4 separate regions of the Homo sapiens genome follow, and regions 1, 2 and 3 are each linked to region 4. Evidence: promoter capture Hi-C in 16 types of primary human blood cells and fetal thymus (Javierre and others, 2016). All regions are on one chromosome and are shown on one strand. Each heading gives the region's core, a stretch centred on a gene start or on the middle of the fragment in contact. The rest is flanking DNA. Distances are from core to core; before and after follow the strand shown. Region 1 overlaps STK32A-AS1 (STK32A antisense RNA 1). Region 2 overlaps STK32A-AS1 (STK32A antisense RNA 1). Region 3 has its middle 76 kb from the start of STK32A-AS1. Region 4 holds the start of GPR151 (G protein-coupled receptor 151).

Evidence for each region. The method cuts DNA at HindIII sites, captures the fragments that hold promoters and counts their contacts. A CHiCAGO score of 5 or more calls a contact.
Region 1: a fragment that was not itself captured here is called in contact with the fragment with the promoter of GPR151 in region 4 in 1 of 17 cell types (M2 macrophages); the score reaches 5.6 in M2 macrophages.
Region 2: a contact is called between a fragment that was not itself captured here and the fragment with the promoter of GPR151 in region 4, in 1 of 17 cell types (total CD8 T cells). The highest score is 5.1, in total CD8 T cells.
Region 3: a fragment that was not itself captured here is called in contact with the fragment with the promoter of GPR151 in region 4 in 1 of 17 cell types (total CD4 T cells); the score reaches 5.2 in total CD4 T cells.

Annotation. Positions count from the first base shown.
Region 1 is chr5:147,175,337-147,178,830 of GRCh38, reverse strand. It overlaps STK32A-AS1 (STK32A antisense RNA 1), which reads left to right. Exons shown (of 4, transcript NR_147190.1): 4 at 1,342-1,796. Among named protein-coding and RNA genes, the nearest start is that of STK32A-AS1, 58 kb to the left of the region's middle. The HindIII fragment of the contact is 1,090 bases long and covers 1,157-2,246 here.
Region 2 is chr5:147,210,309-147,213,999 of GRCh38, reverse strand. The region is part of intron 1 of STK32A-AS1 (STK32A antisense RNA 1); the gene reads left to right. Among named protein-coding and RNA genes, the nearest start is that of STK32A-AS1, 23 kb to the left of the region's middle. The HindIII fragment of the contact is 6,668 bases long and covers 1-3,691 here.
Region 3 is chr5:147,157,328-147,160,679 of GRCh38, reverse strand. No RefSeq gene overlaps it. Among named protein-coding and RNA genes, the nearest start is that of STK32A-AS1, 76 kb to the left of the region's middle. The HindIII fragment of the contact is 452 bases long and covers 1,464-1,915 here.
Region 4 is chr5:146,514,922-146,518,275 of GRCh38, reverse strand. GPR151 (G protein-coupled receptor 151) reads left to right here and starts at 2,086. Exons shown (of 1, transcript NM_194251.3): 1 at 2,086-3,354. The coding sequence starts at 2,163. The HindIII fragment of the contact is 3,538 bases long and covers 1,575-3,354 here.

The DNA.
Region 1 (3,494 bases), core at 452-2,951, 660 kb before region 4:
AGTTTTCCTGTAGTTTGCTTTTTCCCCCTCAATGTGATTTTTTTCCAGATTCATCTATATTGATCCCTACAGTTTTGGTTATTTTTAATGCAGTATAACATTCCATTTTATAAATATTTGTCACAAATTATTTGTCCACCCATCAGAGGATGAACATATGGAAATAACTTTGTATTCCAAGAAATGGCATTGCAGGGTTATAGGGTATAAATAGTCTCAGCTTCATTAACTTTATATGTTGGCAAATAGTTCCCCAAAGAAATGTATCAATTCTTCCCCGAAGAATTGTATCATTTCATACCATCAACATGTAAAATATCTTATTTCTTCAAATTCTAAGTCTTTTAAATATTTCTGCCTATCATACAAGTGTGAAATGTTTTTGGTTGCAGTATTCATGATCACTTTTAAGACTACTGGTGAGATTGAACACATTTCATTTGTGCTTTTTCTGTTCAAATTTCTTGTATGTGTTTCATATAACAATGTTTCAAATGTATTACTACTTATTTATTGGCATTTAGAAAACATATGTGCATGTGGGATACACACACACAGGTGTATAGGAGAATTAGATCCACGAAAATCAGGTGTTACAAAGAGTTAGGTACAAAACTATGAAGAAAGTAGAGAAGGATTGACCTGATACAATAGGCTTGTGGAGAGGCGACTGGTTGATAAAACCTGGGGAACAGTGATCTAAATAACAGATAAAGAACAAACAACTAGACGTCACTCTTATTTAAGCCAGAGAAAGAAAGTAAAAAAAAAAATCTTAAACTTTTTTTTAAACAGTTAAATGGAGTATCCATTTAGAATTTGTCAGGTGCAAAGCTATCACGAGAAGTTATTACATTCTTTCAGTAAAAGGCTTACTTATGGATAATGACGACCTTTGTTTGAATAACACTTCAACATTTGGAAACTCTTTGGCTGTATAATCTAAATCTGCCATGAGGCAAACATGACACAATTAGCCTATAAGAGACGGTTAATGTGTGAAGCAGGGAGGTAAGACTTGGTTTTTGCCTTCAAGGAGTTCATAGCCTGCTGATAGAGACAGAGGCACAAAGTTTTATAATTATAAAGGTACTTTTGGAATGTGGTGTTGCAGAGAAAGGGACCAATGCTACTATGTGGTGGGGAGAGGGAAGCTTTGCAGGGGGTGTGTGTCTCATAGGGTGAGTAATGCTTGGGAGATAGAAGAAAAAAAGGACATTCCAGACAGAGAAGCACATTCCTAAAGGCAAAAAAAAAAAAATGTTGAAGTGATGGGAACATATTCGAAGAACAATAGAAAATGATTGTGGCTGCAAATTACTTGACATTTCTCTTGTTCAGAGGTGCAGTCTGTGTCCCCGTCCTTGACTCTGAGAATCCCTGTGATCAACAGAATGCAGAAAAGTGACACTGCATGGCTTCTGAGGCTAGGTCCAGAAAAGGTGATGCAGCTTCCCCCTTTGCGCTGAAATGCAGTGCTTGGACCTCAGAGCTATTGACTAAGAAGTCCATGCACCCTGAGCTTCTCATGCTGGGGAAGCCACGTGTAGGCATTCAGTTCCCAGCCCAGCTGAGCTCCATCCTGGCTGCAACAATTGTTCTCATGAGGAAGCCATCTTGGACACTCAGCTCCATGGAGCCTCCACGAGTCGCCAGCCCCAACTGACATCTGTCTCACTGCAACCACAGAAGAGCCTCCAACCAAGAACTGCACAGCTGAACCCTTTCTAAATTCTTGATCTCCAAAAAGCCATGCACAAAATAAAATGGTTGTTTTGAGCCACTAAACTCTGGAACCTCGAGTAGGGGAGAAGTTCCTTTGGGTAGGTGTCATTTTCCTAGGCTACCATTCATTTTCTCTTATTTTGGTGATAGCAGTCTGATTTATGTGTGTGGGTGGGTCGGGGGTAACCCTGATCTTAAGTCATGTAGTTCAGGTGCCTCCTGGATGTGCCTGCCTAACCATCATATCCCCACTACGGTACGGTGTTTGTAAAGAGTTGAGCAAATAATCCAGGACAGACCACTGAGATTCTGCCTTGTGACTTTTGTTAAAATTAGTGAGAAAAAGTCACTCTCGGGGCAGGCTGGAGTAAAGAGGGATTGCTAAATAGATGCTAGGTAGGCCTGAAACTGCTGGGGGCCAATTTATTATGAAGCAGGAAGAACCTAATAAGGAATAAAGTTACTCTGGAGGAAAGCCAAGCAAAGGAGGGTGAGAGACAGCTTCCTGATGAGACTAAGCTTTGGACCCAGTTTTGCCTGGAACTTCGGCAGGCTGTTTTAGTTTCGTAAGTTAATACGTACTCCTTTTTGATTAAGCTATTTCAGAGGTGTCACTTGCATCTGAAAGATTCCTAATACAGACAGGTAAGATCAGGTCATGGAGGGCTTTGTGCCCTGTGATGGTAAAGTTTTACTTTATTCTGTAAAGAATGAGAACTATATTTTAATCAGGAGCAGGATGATGAGATGTACACTTTAGCAAGACACCTGAATGCACTGAGAAGGGATATTTTGGTGTTAGGAACAGGGAAATGGACTAGGAGTATATAGTGTTAGTTTAGGACATTATGATGCCAACTAATATAGCTGGTGGGATTGGATATGCAATTTGAGAAATATTTAAATCATGGAATCAACACAATTCAGACAGGTTGGGTGGTGTTGGGATAAGGAAGAGAGAAGAAGCAAGGATGACTTTTAGATGGATGGCTTATATACAAGCTGGACTATGTATCACTAAAGAGAATATTAGCTCCAGTTTATGTCTGATGACTCAGAAGTTAAACAACCTGCCCAAGGTTGTGTACCTAGTAAGAGCAGAACCAATCAGGTCTTTAGGCTCCAAGACTTTCATTCTTTGAATTGTATCAGGCCACTCACTGTGTTGAGGCCGCCATGTGCACTGCATTCCCAAGAAATCATAGCACATGGGGCTGCTTGTTGTTCAGCACATCAGGAGGAAGGCAAAATTATTAATGCTTTCTTTTGGTCTCCTTGCTGTGTCTGACTTGCTACCAAACAAAACCTCTGCAGCAGGGCATTTGTACTATTCAGGTTTTCTTGGCTGACTTATCAGCATTTGTGAAAAGTACAGACGATTTTGTTCCAGCCTTTCTGCATTCTGACTTCAGAAGCTGATTACAGATGCAGAAACATGAAGGGAGGTGAAATCTATTTCCCAAGATGGACTATGGATTGGTTCTAAAGATCAAAAGGGTGTGGCTTTTCAATACAAACAACAAAGTCTGGGAGTTTTTGCACAGTGGAAGAGAAAGGCAAGTAGTAAGGGTGGCAAAGTGCTCATTAGGAAGAAAAGTTAACAGGAAAACTTGGTTTAAATCAAGGCAAGTATGAAGAGAAGGTTATCAACTTTATGAAAAAGAGGACCAGAGAAGGCGAAGTGGCAAGCTGAGTGGCGAATGCTGCTTATCATATATCCAGTTAAAATTTCTTGGTCTCATTCTTCACCATTGTTAAAATACTTTAAC
Region 2 (3,691 bases), core at 812-3,311, 700 kb before region 4:
GGAAACTAAAGAGGAGAAATAGATGAAAACTATCAATAATAATAACAAATATTTATTTCATCTTTTTTATGTGCTAGGCACAGAGCTCAACACTTTATTTGCTCCCTGTCATTCAATGCTAATAATACCAATATTCAGTGAAAAATACTGGAGCTTAAAGGTCAGATCACTTGTCCAGAGTCACAGAACAGAAGCCCAAGTAATCTGGTATAACAGCCAGGCTTTTTTTCTACTACAACATTCTTCATCCTGTATGACATTTTGAAATCTGGAATTAGAAGAGTGGAGTTCATGTGTCGCCTGAAATGATCCTCATGGTAAGCACTGCACCTGTGGGGATGTCATTAGCTCATACCTAGAATCTGACTTTCCATCTGTAAAATAAAGCTAGACTCTGTAGTTTCCCCAGACCCTTCTAGTGCTGCTATTCTATGACCATGGAACATATCTTATGACCTATGCTCAAGGTGACTGTCTTGGTTTGCCCAAGATTGAGAGATTGAGAGAGTTATCAAGATGCGGACTTTTCAGTCTGGGAAAACCTGGATTGCTAGTCCCCTACTACAACATCTGATGTGTTATCTATATTTTGGACACAACCATTTACTGATTTCTTAAACTTCTTTGGGGTTCTTTTGTTTCTCAAAGTCTTAAAGAACTGGGACACAGAATAGTAAGACTTTGTGTTTCTTAGATCAACTGTTGAATATCTGGAACATAGGGGAGATTATTTTGAAGGGACCTGCATTTTCCTACCTGGACATGTTATGCTCAAGTTGTTGGGATGGTTTCCCCTTTCCTTTCCTTATACTTGAAAACAGTTGGCTGGTTTGTTTTGTTAAATTTGCCGTTGCACTGATAGTTGAGGAATGCTTAGTGACAAGAATATAGCATTTGTAATCCATTTGAAACTTTCTCCACTGATGAAAGGGAATGGTTGTGTAGTAATAATAAATTCATTTCTTTAAAAAACACTTTACATGTACTAACTGAATCCTGAAACAGCTGTAATTCCAGGTAGCTATTATTGTCCATACTTTAAAGGTAATAAAACTGAGACTCAGGTAAATTGTAATTTATTGAAGTTAACAAATCTAAACTGGCATTTGAACTGTGGTGCCCCTAAATCAGAGTCCCTGTTTTTCCCGTGCAAATGGTTACTTCTATGGTTCAAACAGCTAACATTTCTAGTTTATTGGAATATGAGTACTGCTTATGGTCCTAAAGATTTCAGGTGAACATACACTTAGATGTCTGGCATTTTGCTTTCAATTCCTGACTTTCTTCCCATACACAATAATCGGATCATTTCTTCAACAGATATGAAACAAGTGCTTTACTTATTGCTGTATTTTTCCCCAACTTTGAAAGTACCTGCTTTTTGGGACAAAGTTTTACTTCCAGTTCTTGTTAAACAAAGATGCGTCTTTATCGCTAAAATAAAAACACAATGACAGTTATAAAATTTCCATGGATCTGGATAGTCCAGGCAACAAGAAAGAACATGTCAATGAAGGCACAGCATTTAACAGAGTGTACATATGAAACTACGATTTTAAATAATATGAACTACAATATGTGTCTATTTACATCCAGTATATTAGAAAATTTATAACTTATTTTTAAGTATAAAAAGTATGCAGATCTTACTTTTTTCATAATTAATATGCATTGACATTCTTTTGCAGTCTCTAAACAAAACTACAAAATTATGGGACTATTACAAATATTTATTGCTTGTCTACTATGTGAATTTAATCCGCACAGAAACCTATGAAGTAAATAATTTATCCCATATACTAATGCAGAATGTAGAGTTCACCAAGGTTAAATTGTACGATTAAGAAACGTAGGAGATGGTATTGAGGACCATACTGAAACCTGGGTTAATCTGACACCATTAGGGTATGTTATATTAGAATTATTCCAGAAATTTCTCTATTTTTGAATTGTTTTGGATGCTCTATTGTATATTAGAGTAGATCTAATTAACTCAAGCAAGTTTACCACTTGTGGCCTTATTTAAATTATGCAACACATTGGTAATCTAGATTCTATAATAGACGTTTTTATGTGACTTTCACCATCCAAGCTATCCATATGCAACTAATTAGGAGTTTGAAAAATGTCTGAATTATTAACTCGATTTTCCTATTTTTATTTGTGTTTTAGGCATTCTGTAAATGTGGTCTATTTCCAACTTCTATCATTATTGAAAGCCATCTTTCTTCCAACCATAGAAAGTTAGATGAACTTTTCTGCAGAAGACATTGTTTATCTTAATTAATTATGTGATTTTAATATTTTCTTCTTTCTAAACACTTAATATGTTTATTCTCCTGCTCAATTGTTGTTTTCTTCTCGCTTAGTTGTTTTTTTCCAGTAATAGGAACTGAAAGTTACCCAAATATTAATGAGAGTTAGAGAAATTGCAAATTATGTATCAACTAATGATAACTATGTTTCTTTATATATATGGAGTTATTAACAGCTCCAAAACTTTCGAACACAAGAAAAGGTTTGAAAAGGTTTTAGAATGTAAATAGGTTCCAACCTAGTTAAATGTGAACTCATATTGACAGTTGATATTAAATAAGCAATTTCCATTTTGCATATATCAGACTTAATCAGAAGCACAGTGATTAAGTTTGCATTATTTGTTGAATCAAAGACTTGTAAAAGCATGAGTAAGCATATGATTAAGCTATTTAAAAAAGAATTATTATCCTAATATTAAACATAAATATCAAAAATTATACTTTGACTTAGAGCATTTTTCCTAAAGATTCTTTCTACCATCCCTGTGAGGGAAGCAGGGACTTATTTCAGCTTATGAAATAGAAGAGTATGGAAGTTACGTTAGTTGTTTTTGTAAATGTAAAAATACTTTAATCAGTAAACTGAACAATTTGAAAAATAGAACACAATGCATCTTTCCCAAGCAGAGTATTTGTTGAATTTACATCTTAACTGGGTTATGAAATACTGACAAATTTCATGTTGAATTTACATTTCACAGTAGCTCTAACATGAAACCTGTAACATTTATGTCAGATTATCTTTATGGTCCCCCGTAAAGGCCTGGTTCCTTTTTATTTTTATGTTTGGAACTTCTTTCTTATAAAACATTTTATAACAAAATAATAAAAATGTTATAATGAAATTCACATTTTAGAAGGGTACCATTGGATGACTTTTTGACAAATATTCATGTTATTTCACTTGCTTTTGCCTCATAATCCTTAAACCTCTGTGTTAAACAACATTTCTTTTGACCTGGCATTCAATCCACAATTTTCTCACCATACTCTGGTTTCAACTTTTTCTGTAAAGAATCAATTAGTAAATATTTTAGGTTTCCGGGACATATGGTGTCTGATACAACTACTTAACTCTGCCATTATAGTGGGAAAATAGCCATAGAGAAAATGAAAGTAAATGAGCATGACTGTTTTCCAATAAAGTATTATTTATGGACACTCAAATTTTAACTTTATATTTCTATGTCATGAAATAGTATTCTTTGGATTTTTCCAATGTTTTAAAAATGTAAAATTCATTTTTAGCTCCAAGGCTATACAAAAACTGATGGCAGCATAGATTTGATCAGCAGGCCTTGGTTTGTTGATCTCTGCTATAAAAGATAATAAAATCACAGAATTTCAGAAAAAGGTCTGGAGAGTATCTCATC
Region 3 (3,352 bases), core at 440-2,939, 640 kb before region 4:
AGCTTGCACAATGAACAGATGATAAAGTCTACAACCCTTAAAAGGTTGGGAATCAAATAGGAAATCCCAACTCCTGGGATCCCCAAAGGGCTGTATCTTCAAACTAAGGGGAAATGAGAAATCAACTCAGTGTTTGGATGAAACAGTACTGAATGAAGGGGAAAAAAAGAATATATAAACATTTTCTTGAGATTTTCATAACTCCAAGTTAGTCCTTATGTGGGTTTGTGGCCAAATTTATATTTCTTGTAATGTATAAAACATCTCCAAAGAAGAATTTGATAAAAGAGATCTCCTAAATCAGTACTATACTATAGTACTATACAGGTAATATACCCAGAGAGGAAACGCAGTTTTTCTCTAAAGGAATGCAACCTCAAGTCAAACCCTCCCCAAATTCCTGCAGATAAATTTGCAAGGAATATGAACTCACAAACACATGAATATGTACATGCACACATATCTCTACATACATGAAATATACATGGAAATAGGGCAATGTGAAAAACAAGGGCAAAATAATACTTGCAAAAACATATTTTGGAATTAGTAAGGCCAGTAAAACATTTGTAATATGTTTAAAGAAAAGGTCATTTAATGAATCATCTTTGTATTTCCCAAATACTTGCATATAATGATTACTCAAGCCATATTAGTTGACTGAATAAAAAGCCCAGATAACTGCTTCTTTAATGAAGAGCATCAAAATAGTTATTTATGTTCTCCCAGCAACAAATAGTTGACATCAAGGAGCATATTACTCCTGAAAGTTATTAGGCTGGTAATCTTATACCCTCTTCGAGCCTGGTAGAGCAGCTCTTCCCACTAAAAGGATTATTTTTTCACAAAGTTAAATATTGAAGGGAAGTTCTGAAGGAGCTGATCTCTTTGTTAGTCTTGGGCACACATCTATTAATCTGAAAGACTTCCCTTAGAACTTTGACATAAGCTGCTAAGTCACTTGGTAGTGGAGGAGCAGGAATGGATGGCTGCCCAGGCATACAAGAAATCCAAAACTTTGATTGTTAGAAATAATACATATTTCCCCTAAAACTGAATTTAGAAATAGACTACACTTGGGATTCATAGACATCTAGGGGAAACGTTACTGGGCTTCAGGGGCCTGTGTACTTATGAAACAAAAATTTACACATTTTGGGAGAGAAGATTCTGAAATTTTTTTAGATTTGCAAAGTTTCCTGAGTCCATGATCCCAGAAAATGTTACAGAAAGATTTCTTTCTATATTTTCCCATTTAATAAACAGGGAAACTGGGGACCAGAGAGCTAAAAAGATTTGTCCAGTATCTCAAGTTCACACATGCATGTCTGTGCTCAGAATGCCAGTCATGCCCCAGGAGAAAAGTTTATCCATGCAAAAATTTTGTCTTCAGTTAAGGCACCAAAGAGTGGGTTATGAGTATTTCCTGCAATGACAGCTCTCTTGAGAACATCTCTGAAGCTTCCCAACTTCCTCAATAATTTGCCGTTTTAGAACATATTTGTAAGAACACATTAATTTCCTCATACTTTGCAAGGATGCTATTGTACAAATGCAGGATTTCTCCATTATGCTTAGAGTGTTCTACTTCAGGCATCCAAACCAGCACCTGGGCTAGATCCTAAATGTCTATCGCCCAGCAAATACATACATCTTTTGTCAATGTTTGCACAGAAAACCAAAACCAGGGTTTGGCTTTGACAGTTTCTCAGAGTTGATCAGAAATCTCTAAAACTCATATCGAGCCTGTTGAGAATAAAGAGTTGTCTTCCCCAGAAAGATATAATCAATTAGCATTCCAGACACCTTACAAACTAAGTTTTCCACAGGTCTATTTGCAAGTGTGCTTTGGTAGAAGAGCACAAACTGGGTTTGCCACTTACTAGCAATGGGGCCTCAGAAGGTCACTTAAGCTTCCTAAGCCTCAGTTTCTCATTAGTTAAATGAAATTGAATCACATTTAAAGTATATTGGGTATGATTTTATGTAAACCTAAGCATTGGAAAAGGTCCTTATTTCATCGAATATCTGCTGAAAAATTGCTTTGCCATTAGAGGTCATGTTCTATGAAAAATGGGTATTTCATGTGTGGTTCTCCCACTAAGAACTTAAAATTGAAATTGTAAAAATCAAACAGGCATAATCCATGATGCAAGTAATGGTACTGCTTATCTCACTGGGTTGTTGTGAGGGGTGAATAGGTTACAATGACTGAGCCTCCCCTAAGGCTGGGACTGAGTTCTAGTCATTTTTATATCCAGGCTCTACAAATTACCCCTTGTGTGATATTGGCTAATTTATTAAACTTCTAGCCATATGTTTTATGGTCTATAAAATAGAAACAGTAATAGTAGTAATCTTACAGTCATGATGATTAAATCATTAAATGGCATATCCTTAGAACACTGGTAAGTTTTTAATAAATATTAATTTTATCATAACCATCATCACTCACGCATAATGCCTATTATCAGGCTTCATATTTATAGATGACCAATGGTATTTTAAAATTAATTAATATTGAACAGCCAGGTTGGCACATAATAGGTGCCCAGTAAACTCATTTTGAATGAGTGAATGGGCTAATTTCAGTGTTTGTCACATGGTAGGTGTTTGAAAACCAAATGGGTTTTCTAATGGCCCTACCTTCTCCTTGCCCTACCTTTGCTATCTAATCCTCACTCAGAGGAGCCAGTGACAGAAGAGGCTCCTGGAAATCCCAGGCCAACTCTTCTCTCAGACCTGCCTTAATCAGTGAGAAAACTTTTGGCAAAATGAAAGGGTGCAGCTGCTGGAAATAGAGAAGGAGGTCATGATGCATGACTCCACAAAGGAAAGGGAATATATCCCTTTGGTGTTGGCAGCTGCAAACCTGAGATGACAGACGCTGGCCAATTTCCATCCTCAAACATAGTCAGACCTCTTTGGATTCCCTAGGCACATTTTGGTGAGCTAAAGATGGAGGGGCTCTTCCTAAACCCCAACCTCCCAGACACTCTCTCATGAGTGGGAGAAAGGGACTTAATGATTCCCTGATTACCTACAGCCTCCCTTGGTAGCTGGGTAAACTCTGGCAAGCTACTTCAAAATCTATGTGCTTCATTCATCTCTGAATTGGGAATAAAAGTAGTGCCTGCCTCACAGCATTGCTGTGATGAAATGTGTTAACATGTAATGTGCTGAGAACAGTGCCTGAGTTACAGTATCTGGTAATGCTAGGAGCAATGAATGCTGGTTATTACGAATTACTGTTCTGCTCGGGACACAGGATCTTTGAGCATAGTGTGGGAACAGATGGGGATCCACAGTTTCTTACTATGGAATGCTGGGATCTTGGAGTTTAAATTCTCAG
Region 4 (3,354 bases), core at 837-3,336:
AGATGCTTCCCTGAGTCAGTACCAATAGACTTGGGAAGTACCACATGACAGTCTTTAGTTTCCCTCAATTGTCTATTAAGAATCAAATTTCCATGGTATTAAAGGTGGCTTGAACCCATTTAGCTTTTTATCTTATACAGCTTCAGGAGGCTTGAATATCATAATCTTGAATATATAAGCCACAGTGTGAAGCAGTATATTTGTTTCTTGGTTCTGAATGAATCTCTTCCACATACATCAAGTGAACTACCTTCCTTGTAGTCTACAATCTGCAAAACATCACTCTGCTCCCTCCCCCATTTTCTTCCCTGTAAGACGTTGCGGGCCTCTTCACACCCAAAAGTGATGCTTGTTGAGACTCAAGGATATTTCATCCTTAAGTAGTTACTGGGAGTTACTGTGCCTTGCTGGAATAAGGTGTTGCCCCAATTTACTGTTCTATAGGAACAACTACTTCCCAGAGGTAAAAGGAAGGAAAGCAAAAGGAAATAGAAATGGAAACAAAGGAACCCAGCACCACTGACCACTGTCCCAATAGCTATACTGATCACTACTTATTTATTTTCTAGGACACTGAAGAATTTTAAAACGTCAGACCCTTCTTTACTTGCGAAAAACGTGAAAGCACAGTACCAGAATCCAGAGATCTGAATGCAGCAGCATACTCTCCTGTATATCATGCTTTAGCTTTTCTGACTAGCCACACTCAATGTAGCATGTATCTTCATATCAACCCCACAAACCCCATTCTCTGAACATTTTGAGCTCCTCTAATCCCCCCAGAGTATCCATTGCTTATTTTAAAATTTCAGGGCTAGTTCTACCAAATCATCTTATCTGAGAATTTTTTTATTTCTAGAGACAGAGGATCACTCTGTCACTCAGGTTGGAGTGCAGCAGCACAGTCATAGCTCACTGCAACCTCGAACTCCTGGGCTTAAGCAACCCTCTCACCTCAGTCTCTTAAGTAGCTAGGACTACAGGTGTACACCATCATGGCTGACTTTTTTTTTTTTCTTTTTTTTTTTTTTCTTGTTTGTTTGGTAGAGGTGGGGGCAGGGGTCTCACTTTGTTGCCCAGGCTGGTCTCGAACTTCTGGCCTTAAGCAATCCTCCCGCCTCCACCTCCCCAAATTCTGGGATTACAGGCATGAGCCAGTGTGCCCAGCACAAAATCTTTACCAACTTTAAAATATAATTTAAAAAAATCTCTTAAATGCCTTCCACATAGATATTGATTTTTCTTTCATTTCTCTTGTCTTGGTAAATCCTCTAGGAATGCTCTCTGAAAAGCAGCTTAATTCATCATGCAGTTGCCTTCATCACCATCACTTGTTGAAAAGTCTTATTAGTATGTAAAGCAGTTCTAATTTGGAGCTGTAAAATTGCTTCTAAAAACTCGTAATAGAATAAACTGAGAGTCATCCATAATTAGATTTTTTTAATAGGACTTCTAACTTGTTTTCATTATCCAGCTGTGTTTGAACTCAGCCAGCTGTTGATGGAACTGAGGTGGTTGTAAGGGTTGGGGAAAAGAAGAGGAAGCTCATCTCTGCAGAGTGGGTAGGGGAAGCTTTAGTTCTCAGTTTAAAACAGTGGTTCTCAAAGTGTGGTCTCCCAACCTGCAGCATCAGAGTCTCATGGGAACTTGTTAGAAATGATTTCTTGGGCCCTACTCCAGACCCACTGGATCCGGCCATCAGGTGAAGTTCAAAGAACTTGGTTCAGATGTAGTGTTCACTAAATTACAGACAGCAGTCAAGATTTTAGGAAGAGCTGGTTGAAAATAATTGCCTTGACTGGCTCTAGTGACCCCCCAAGGAACACATGCCACTTACATGTATGTTCTCTTCATTCATCATTTATGGGTATATTTGTATTACTCCACAGGGCTGACGATTTGGTATTAGACTTGCTAATGAGCAGCAGCCATGTGCTCCTGCTATCTGACAGTCGGTACAGTCACAAGTATATTGTATGCAGCAGAGAAGAGCTTAACAGCCAGCCTCCTTCCACATTCTGCTCTCAGGAAATAAGCAAGGGGAGGATCCAGAAGTGTCATTTGACACTGACGACAGAGTACTTATTTCCTATGCAAAAGAGCCCAGGCAGAAAGACAAACCTAAATAAGAATCTAACTTCTGTAAGAAGCTGTGAAGAGTGATGCTGGCAGCTGCCTTTGCAGACTCTAACTCCAGCAGCATGAATGTGTCCTTTGCTCACCTCCACTTTGCCGGAGGGTACCTGCCCTCTGATTCCCAGGACTGGAGAACCATCATCCCGGCTCTCTTGGTGGCTGTCTGCCTGGTGGGCTTCGTGGGAAACCTGTGTGTGATTGGCATCCTCCTTCACAATGCTTGGAAAGGAAAGCCATCCATGATCCACTCCCTGATTCTGAATCTCAGCCTGGCTGATCTCTCCCTCCTGCTGTTTTCTGCACCTATCCGAGCTACGGCGTACTCCAAAAGTGTTTGGGATCTAGGCTGGTTTGTCTGCAAGTCCTCTGACTGGTTTATCCACACATGCATGGCAGCCAAGAGCCTGACAATCGTTGTGGTGGCCAAAGTATGCTTCATGTATGCAAGTGACCCAGCCAAGCAAGTGAGTATCCACAACTACACCATCTGGTCAGTGCTGGTGGCCATCTGGACTGTGGCTAGCCTGTTACCCCTGCCGGAATGGTTCTTTAGCACCATCAGGCATCATGAAGGTGTGGAAATGTGCCTCGTGGATGTACCAGCTGTGGCTGAAGAGTTTATGTCGATGTTTGGTAAGCTCTACCCACTCCTGGCATTTGGCCTTCCATTATTTTTTGCCAGCTTTTATTTCTGGAGAGCTTATGACCAATGTAAAAAACGAGGAACTAAGACTCAAAATCTTAGAAACCAGATACGCTCAAAGCAAGTCACAGTGATGCTGCTGAGCATTGCCATCATCTCTGCTCTCTTGTGGCTCCCCGAATGGGTAGCTTGGCTGTGGGTATGGCATCTGAAGGCTGCAGGCCCGGCCCCACCACAAGGTTTCATAGCCCTGTCTCAAGTCTTGATGTTTTCCATCTCTTCAGCAAATCCTCTCATTTTTCTTGTGATGTCGGAAGAGTTCAGGGAAGGCTTGAAAGGTGTATGGAAATGGATGATAACCAAAAAACCTCCAACTGTCTCAGAGTCTCAGGAAACACCAGCTGGCAACTCAGAGGGTCTTCCTGACAAGGTTCCATCTCCAGAATCCCCAGCATCCATACCAGAAAAAGAGAAACCCAGCTCTCCCTCCTCTGGCAAAGGGAAAACTGAGAAGGCAGAGATTCCCATCCTTCCTGACGTAGAGCAGTTTTGGCATGAGAGGGACACAGTCCCTT